3 separate regions of the Homo sapiens genome follow, and all the other regions are linked to region 2. The links are contacts of gene promoters, found by promoter capture Hi-C in human tissues and cell types (Jung and others, 2019). All regions are on one chromosome and are shown on one strand. The core of a region is centred on a gene start or on the middle of the fragment in contact, and the rest is flanking DNA. Distances in the headings are between cores, read along the strand shown. Region 1 overlaps LINC01257 (long intergenic non-protein coding RNA 1257). Region 2 holds the start of MMP17 (matrix metallopeptidase 17). Region 3 overlaps ADGRD1 (adhesion G protein-coupled receptor D1).

Evidence for each region. Contacts are between HindIII fragments. The study calls those that stand out against the background at their distance.
Region 1: a fragment that was not itself captured here is called in contact with the fragment with the promoter of MMP17 in region 2 in 1 of the 25 tissues and cell types used here (dorsolateral prefrontal cortex).
Region 3: a fragment that was not itself captured here is called in contact with the fragment with the promoter of MMP17 in region 2 in 1 of the 25 tissues and cell types used here (lymphoblastoid cells).

What each region holds. Positions count from the first base shown.
Region 1 is chr12:131,210,761-131,213,478 of GRCh38, forward strand. It overlaps LINC01257 (long intergenic non-protein coding RNA 1257), which reads left to right. Exons shown (of 5, transcript NR_026670.2): 5 at 1,445-2,171. Among named protein-coding and RNA genes, the nearest start is that of LINC01257, 47 kb to the left of the region's middle. The HindIII fragment of the contact is 6,972 bases long and covers 1-2,718 here.
Region 2 is chr12:131,827,092-131,829,791 of GRCh38, forward strand. MMP17 (matrix metallopeptidase 17) reads left to right here and starts at 1,302. Exons shown (of 10, transcript NM_016155.7): 1 at 1,302-1,562. The coding sequence starts at 1,404. RefSeq lists a silencer at 1,167-1,296. The HindIII fragment of the contact is 32,715 bases long and covers 1-2,700 here.
Region 3 is chr12:131,126,568-131,129,267 of GRCh38, forward strand. All of the region lies in intron 20 of ADGRD1 (adhesion G protein-coupled receptor D1), which reads left to right. Among named protein-coding and RNA genes, the nearest start is that of LINC01257, 37 kb to the right of the region's middle. The HindIII fragment of the contact is 4,092 bases long and covers 1-2,700 here.

The DNA of each region.
Region 1 (2,718 bases), core at 22-2,521, 620 kb before region 2:
GAGGGCAGACTTTCCCCAAAGAAGAGAAAAATGGTGTTGTGAAGAGCAGAGGCAGGAGGGCAGACGTGGGAGGGTGACTGTCTCTCCCTGGGGAGGGGTGTGTGGGATGGGGCCGTGGGCCTGTGAGCAGCTGGGTGGGGGAGCTGGCAGCTGCCTTCTCACTCCCACTGGAAAGGCAGTCCCAGGGTTCTCTGAGCTGGAGACCCTCGGTCCAGCAGAAAAAGGCAGCCCAGTCCTCTTGCAGAGGAGAGAACACAGCCATGCCTAGGGGCTGCCTTTCTCCCCCAGGCTCGTGTGGCTGAACCGTGGCTACAGCCCCTTCAGTCCTGTGTCCTCGCCTCTGCCAGCAACCCCTGAGCTGCTGGGATGGCGTGGGATGTGGACCAGGAGCCCCAGTTCTCACCACTCGAGCCCGTGGGCCAGAGCCTGCCTGGCTCTATTCCTAGGTCTGCGGGAGAACTGGAGGGTATGGGAAGCTGAGTGGGGGAAGCTGTCCCCTAATCAATGGGCTGAGCAGTGGCAACGCTGTAGACATGGCACCATGCTGACCTCTTTTTGCTTTGGGTTCCTGAGCGGGGCCTTCTACCTGGACTCACACTCAGAGCAGGCTCTCCTTGGGCCCAGTGCCCTGCGTGTCCATTGGTTAGGGGATGGTGGGGGGTGAGGCCGGGCTGAATGAGGACAGATTGCGCTGTGACAGGCATCCCAACAGCAGCCTCCTGTGTCGGCTGCGGAGGGCTTGCATTTCAGAATTCATAAGCTCAGTCATGCCAAATGCAATTACTTTTATGTAACTGGAGTTAGTCTCTCTTTTACCACAATATTCTGACTGATGCAGAAAACATAATTTAGTCAATTCTAGGAAAACTCACTCAAGTTCAAAGTAATGTGGTAGAAGGTGTGGGTGTGGGGGCTTTGCAGAAACAAGAGGGAATTAACCATAACTTTAAGAAAATACATTCATTCTGCCTTGCAGGGGGTGCAGAAAGGGCACTGGGGTACTTGGGCTGTGGGGACCACGTCAGCTTCTAGCCCCGCTCTAGGATGTGGAAGTCTCTGGAGAAGGGTGGGAAAATACCCCAGGTCCTCCCTGGCCCCATCGCCCACCAGGGCCTCTCGCTGTCTCAACCCAGCCTGAGGCCAGCTGACCAGGGGTGTGGGAAGCCCAGTTCTATGCCTCTGCTCCCCCAGACCCCACAGATTCACAGCAGAGCAGGAAGGGCAGGGCATGGATGGGAGGGCATCAGGGCCACAGGCCCAGGACAGGCATGCCGACTGCTCTTGGGGGCATTTGCAGGTACACTAAGAAGCTGCAAGAGGGACACACACACACACACACACACACACACACACATACATACACACACTCACACATAGTCACACACACACACACCCCTGCCCTCCCGTCTCCAGACCTTGTGGTCACAACAACCCTCCTCCTCAGCTTCCTGGCACTGCTGGACCTGTCTTGAAGGCTCTTTTGGCCGGAAATGGATGGGCAGGGATCTGAGAGCACCTGCTATCGGGTGAGTCCTGCTTTACTCATGTCAGAGATTTAGACTAAAACAAACACAAAATGCAACAAAGACCTAAGTGTAAGAGCTAAAAGTATAAAACTCTTATAAAAAAAGTAAGTGTAAATTTTCATGGTCTTGGATTAGGTAGCACTCTCTTAGATGTGCTATCAGAAGCACATACAACCACAGGAAAAAAAATACATAAATTGAATTTCATCAAAATTTAAAACTTTTGTGCATTAAAGTTCATGATCAAAAAAGCGAGAAGAAAACCCAGAGAATGAGTGAAATATTTGCAAATCATACATCTGGGACAAGTATCCAGAATATATAAAAATTCTTAGAACTCAACAATATAAAGAAAAATAACCAAATTAAACAGTAGGCAAAGGATTCGAAGAGACCTTTGTCCAAAGAAGATACACAAATGACCAATGAGTACGTGAAAAGATACTCAGCAGCTACTCATTATGGAAGTACCACTTTCCACTCATGCTGAGGGCTATAATAAAAAACAAAACAGAAATGACAAGTGCAGTGAAGATGTGGAGAAACTGGATTTCTCATAGATTGCTGGTGGGAAAGTAACATGGTGCAACCAATGTAGAAACAGTTTGGCAGTTCCTTAAAAAATTAAACAGAGCTACCATCTGACCCGGCTTCTGCTCCTAGGTATTTATACACAAGGGAATTGCAGACATATGTTCACACCAAAACTAGTATGAGAATGTTCATAGCAGCATTATTCACAGTACCCAAAAAGTGGGAACAACCCCAATGCCCATTGAAAGACGAATGAATAAACAAAGCATGGTGTGTTCACACCATGGAATGTGCCTGTGTCCTCAGCCATGGAGAGAATGAAGCACTGACACAGGCCACCATGCGGCTGCACCTCAAAAACATAATGCCAGAAGAAAGAAGGCACACACCATGGCCATGTGTTTTATGATCCTACTCATAGAAAACGTCCAGAGCAGCCAGCACTACAGAGACAGAAAGCAGATTCATGGTTGCCAGGAGCTGGAGGTGAGGGATAGAAAATAGGGAGTGACCTGGAATGTGCATATAATTTTGAGGGTGGGGTCAGGTACTTGTCTGTTCTCACATTGCCATAAGGAAATCCCCGAGACCAGGTAATTTATAAAGGAAAGAGGTTTAATTGACTTAGTTCCACATTGCTGTGGAGGCCTCAGGAAGC
Region 2 (2,700 bases), core at 52-2,551:
TCATTTGAATTTAGGAAGCAGAAATTACAGTGAGCCAAGATCGTGCCACTGCACTCCAGCCTGGGCAACAGAGCAAAAAAAAAAAAAAGAAAGAAAGAAAAAACAATCCGGGATGTCCTGTGAAAGTCCCCACCTCCTACAGGTGATCCCATCAGTCCGAACCAAGGTCATCTGAAGCAGGTGTGGAATCACCCTGTTCAGACCGGGCCAGGGAGGCTCTGAGGGCAGCAGGGACAGGATGGGCCAGAGTACCCAGGGAAGCGGGGGGGGGGGGGGGGGGGTGGTTGGGGGGAGTCGGCCCTCACAGGAGGGGAGGGGCACCACTTCCCTGAGACCAGTTCTGGTAAAAGGGGCCGAGCCTCAGTTTCCCTGTCCGTAGAATGAGACCTCAGTCCTGACAGTACCAGCTGCGATTTGGGGTGGTGGAGCAGGAGGGCCTGGGAAGGAGGGGAAGCCATGCTGTCCAGCACGAGGAGAAGCTGAATAAAGGCAAGGGTTACCCTTGAACCTCACCCCCTGCCCTCTCCCAAGATCTCCCACTCGGTGGGCAGCCTGTACGCAACTTGCACGAGTTCAATCCACACAAGCGCCTGCTCGGGCTCTGACCCTGGCTCTGCCGCTTGCCCGCTCCAGGACCTCCCATAAGTTACTTCATTTCTTTGGGCCTCAGTTTCTTTGTCTGCGAAATGGAAATCATAGTTTTCATCTCATAAATGTTGTAAGTAAATGAAATTATTTATGTAACTCCTGGGCATGTGCCAGGCACACGCTGCGCTCCAACAAACATTACAAGTTAACATTCTCGCTCCCAGGCCCGCAGGGACCGCAGAGCCTCCGCCGAGGACCCCAGCCCCCCCAACACCCGCCCTCGCCCTCCAGTCCCCCGCGCCCCCCAAGCCCCACCCTCCCTCTCCCGCGGTCCGCGGGCTCCACCAAGCGCCCACCTGCTGCGCTGCGGCGGCGGCTCCGGGGCCTGAACCCGGGTCTGAACCCGGGCCTCGGCGCCGTGGGGGGTGGACCCGGGAGCGCGGCCGGAGAGGGGAGTCAGGGTCAGCTCCCCGCAGGCGCCCCGACCCCCGCCTCCGCGCCCATCCCGCGCGTCCCCGCCGCCCCAAGAGCGTCCTAAGACACCCGGGGAAACGCCTTCCCTGTGATGCCGCGGACCCAGTCCCGTCGCGGACACGGCGGGGCGGGCGGGGGTGGCAGCGTCCGAGGCGGCGCGGGCCCTTTAAGGCGGCCGGCCTCGTTAGCATACATTTGCATGGCCCCGCCCCGCCGCTTGAGGCTGCCGCGCGGGGCTCAGTCCGGCGGGGGCGCCGCGGAGAGCGGAGGGCGCCGGGCTGCGGAACGCGAAGCGGAGGGCGCGGGACCCTGCACGCCGCCCGCGGGCCCATGTGAGCGCCATGCGGCGCCGCGCAGCCCGGGGACCCGGCCCGCCGCCCCCAGGGCCCGGACTCTCGCGGCTGCCGCTGCCGCTGCTGCTGCTGCTGGCGCTGGGGACCCGCGGGGGCTGCGCCGCGCCCGCACCCGCGCCGCGCGCCGAGGACCTCAGCCTGGGAGTGGTGAGCGCGCGGGCGGGACGGGCGCGGAGCTCCTGGGCCGGAGCCGGGGGTCTCCGCGGGCCGGGTGGCGGGGACCGGGAAGACCCCAGCAGTGCACGTCGGCGTCGCGCGGGAGCCCTGGCGCCCTGGACCCATTTCCTGGGTGGGGAGACTGAGGCAGGGACGCGGGCTGAGCGACCGGGCGAGCGCACGCGAGTCCTGGGGAGGCGCCGGCTGCCGTCCCGGCTCCGTGCGCTGGGAGCGCGCCGCAGCCGCAGGAGCCCGTGGAGTTGTGAGGGGGTCGCCCACCCGGAGCCCGGGTCGCCGGCTTGCAGCAGCCCCGGAGCAGCCGGGCTGGGCGAGAGCAGGCATCGCGGCCGCCCCGAGCTCTGCGCGCTGCGTGCGTTCCGGGTGGGAGTGGCGGGGGCAGGAGCACGCACCCACAAAGCGAGGAAGGGCAGGGGCTACGGAGTGGGGGCACCCCGAAAGCCTTGAGCCCCCGAGTTTGCTCGGTTGAGGGTGTTGGGGGCACAGGGATGCTGGCCCCCAGCTCCCCACTGGACAAGGACCTGGCCCTCAGCCTCCTTCCCCTCCACCCCAGGTCGGCCAGGCTGGCCCTGCCTTGCCCTGGTACAGTGCTGAGCCGGGGGCGCGGGGAGAGCCTTCCTCACTCCACACCCAGTAGCTGTCCCCAGCTCAGCTTAGAAACCCTGCCTGGGGGCAGCGACGTGGCCTCTTCCTACAGCCCCCTCCCCTGTTCCGCAGCCGGGACTCGCGTCTCCTGTGGACCCGGAAGATTTAGAGCACACGTCGTGGGGTCAGCGCCCCCCCGCTGGGGCGGCCGGGTGAACTCCCGCTGGGTTCGTTGGTTCCTTCTGAGGCTCCTGCCCCACCGCTGCCTTCAATGGACTCCTACCCAGGGAGTCGGGCCAGGAGCCGAGGCCTCCCCGCCCCACACAAGTACTCGGCCTGGCCCTCGTCCGCGGACAGTCTCCCAGTGGGGTCCTGGCAGGGCCCCTCGCCCAGCGCAGTGGACATTCAGGAGCTCCAAAACCTTGGGGTCCAAGCAAGTCAGCGCAGGTGTATTTCAGGCAGTCGAGGCATATGGAGGGGCCACTTGGGTGGCACCCGCAGCCCCTGTGGTTGGCAGGACTTGGCC
Region 3 (2,700 bases), core at 195-2,694, 700 kb before region 2:
AACATTCTGGTGACCCTGAGCTAGGTCAAGAAACAGAACACCAGGATTCCTATGCAGTCCTGCCTCCCTCCTCCCACCAGAGATCACCGTGATCTTGGCCTTCATAGTAGCCACGAGACCTTTGCTTTACAGTTCTACTGCCTCCATGTGCATTCCAGTTTTTCTTCTGCAGTGAGGCCTGTGAGTTGTTTCTTTGACATCTGCCTTTAGTGGGGAGATGCTTAGCTGCTGGAATATCCATGGTACTCACACTGTACATGCCTCAGTCCCAGGGCATTTTCCGATTTGTAGTCGAGTGTGGGTGTACCATACAGCAAGGCATGGATGAGGATGAGTGAAATGGAGTGAGGGGGGCCAGGCCTGATTCTGTATTATATTTTCATGAAATGTCAGATTTGTGCCACTCGCAGCCAAAGTCCCCCACCGCACCGATGCAGGATTGGAGGCCATGGTGAGCCGCTCCTCCTCTTAGGAAGCCACAGCAAATGTATCATCCTGATAAGATGGAAAAAATGTGCCTGGAAAATGAAACCAGACTGACCCAGGCTAAAAGAAAAAAAAAGACCCAGCAAAATCTTTGGAGAAAAAGGAAAGATGATGAATTCTGACAAGTAATAATGTGATCAGCTTAACTGTTATGAAACACTTAGAGTGCATCTTAACGCAAAGCGGTCAAGATAAAGTAAAGGACTTGAAATCTCAAATTAATCACTCGTAGTGTTTCATGTTGGCAAAACATTTTGCTGCAAGTTGATCATCCTTTCGGTGGCCTTGTCAGAAAAGTCTGGGAACAGTCATGTGTGCATCTTTCAGCTTTACAGCTGAGAGGTCCGGGGCAGAACCACGCTTTATAGCCTCCAGAGGCAAAGCAGGAGTGATGATGAGACCTCTGAGCTCATGTGGGTGTTGGTTGTGATGGGACCCTGAGCTCAGATGGGGTGTTGGTTGGGTTGGTTGTGATGGGACCCTGAGCTCAGGTGAGGTGTTGGTTGGGTTGGTTGTGATGGGACCCTGAGCTCAGGTGGGGTGTTGGTTGGGTTGGTTGTGATGGGACCCTGAGCTCAGGTGGGGTGTTGGTTGGGTTGGTTGTTATGGGACTCTGAGCTCAGGTGAGGTGTTGATTGTGTTGGTTGTGATGGGACTCTGAGCTCAGGTGGGGTGTTGGTTGTGTTGGTTGTGGTGGGATTCTGAGCTCAGGTGGGGTGTTGGTTGTGTTGGTTGTGATGGGACCCTGAGCTCAGGTGAGGTGTTGGTTGTGTTGGTTGTGATGGGATTCTGAGCTCAGGTGGGGTGTTGGTTGGGTTGGTTGTGATGGGACCCTGAGCTCAGGTGGGGTGTTGGTTGGGTTGGTTGTGATGGGACCCTGAGCTCAGGTGGGGTGTTGGTTGGGTTGGTTGTGATGGGACCCTGAGCTCAGGTGGGGTGTTGGTTGGGTTGGTTGTGATGGGACTCTGAGCTCAGGTGGGGTGTTGGTTGGGTTGGTTGTGATGGGACTCTGAGCTCAGGTGGGGTGTTGGTTGTGTTGGTTGTGATGGGATTCTGAGCTCAGGTGGGGTGTTTGACTGTGTTGGTTGTGATGGGATTCTGAGCTCAGGTGGGGTGTTGATTGTGTTGGTTGTGATGGGATTCTGAGCTCAGGTGGGGTGTTGGTTGGGTTGGTTGTGATGGGACCCTGAGCTCAGGTGGGGTGTTGGTTGGGTTGGTTGTGATGGGACCCTGAGCTCAGGTGGGGTGTTGGTTGATGGGAACTCTGCACTCACTCAAGTTGCTCGAGATCCTCTCCAGCATCTCCAGGCATCCCTCTCATGGGTCCCAGGCTTCACGGTTTCTCCATCCCCTGAATCACTGGAACACTGCATGGCTGAGTTTCTATTCCACCTGACCCCAAGGACACTGCTCCGTCATTCACAGGAAATGGGTTTCATATTATTTCCTTTTAATTTATAATTGTTTAAAACTAAAATTTAAAGAATCTGATTTATGAAATGGCAACACAAAATTTACAGGAAAAGCTTAAGAATCTATGCATAAATGTGTCTGCCTATGTATGTTTTTGCATTCCCTGGTTTCCACCCTCCCTCCAAACAGGCAACCCGTGATGCTGGTTTCATGGGTATCCTGGGGTTTTGTGCAGATAGGGGGACTGTAACTACATACCCACCCCATGGCGGCCTTCAGTGTATGTGGGGTGTGGCTTCTTCGCCAAGGAAGAGCTGCCTGAGTCTGTCTCAGACCCACAAAGTGTTCCATAGAGTGGGTGTGGGCAGCAGCCCTGCCCTGCTGTCTGGGTGTGGACGGCAGCCCCACCCTGCTGTCTGGGTGTGAGTGACAGGCCGGCCCTGCTGTCTGGGTGTGAGTGACAGCCCCGCCCTGCTGTCTGGGTGTGAGTGACAGGCCGGCCCTCCTGTCTGGGTGTGAGTGGCAGCCCCGCCCTGCTGTCTGGTGTGAGTGACAGGCCCGCCCTGCTGTCTGGTGTGAGTGACAGGCCGGCCCTGCTGTCTGGGTGTGAGTGACAGCCCCGCCCTGCTGTCTGGGTGTGAGTGACAGGCCGGCCCTGCTGTCTGGGTGTGAGTGACAGGCCCGCCCTGCTGTCTGAGTGTGAGTGACAGGCCCGCCCTGCTGTCTGGTGTGAGTGACAGCCCCGCCCTGCTGTCTGGGTGTGAGTGACAGGCCCGCCCTGCTGTCTGGGTGTGAGTGACA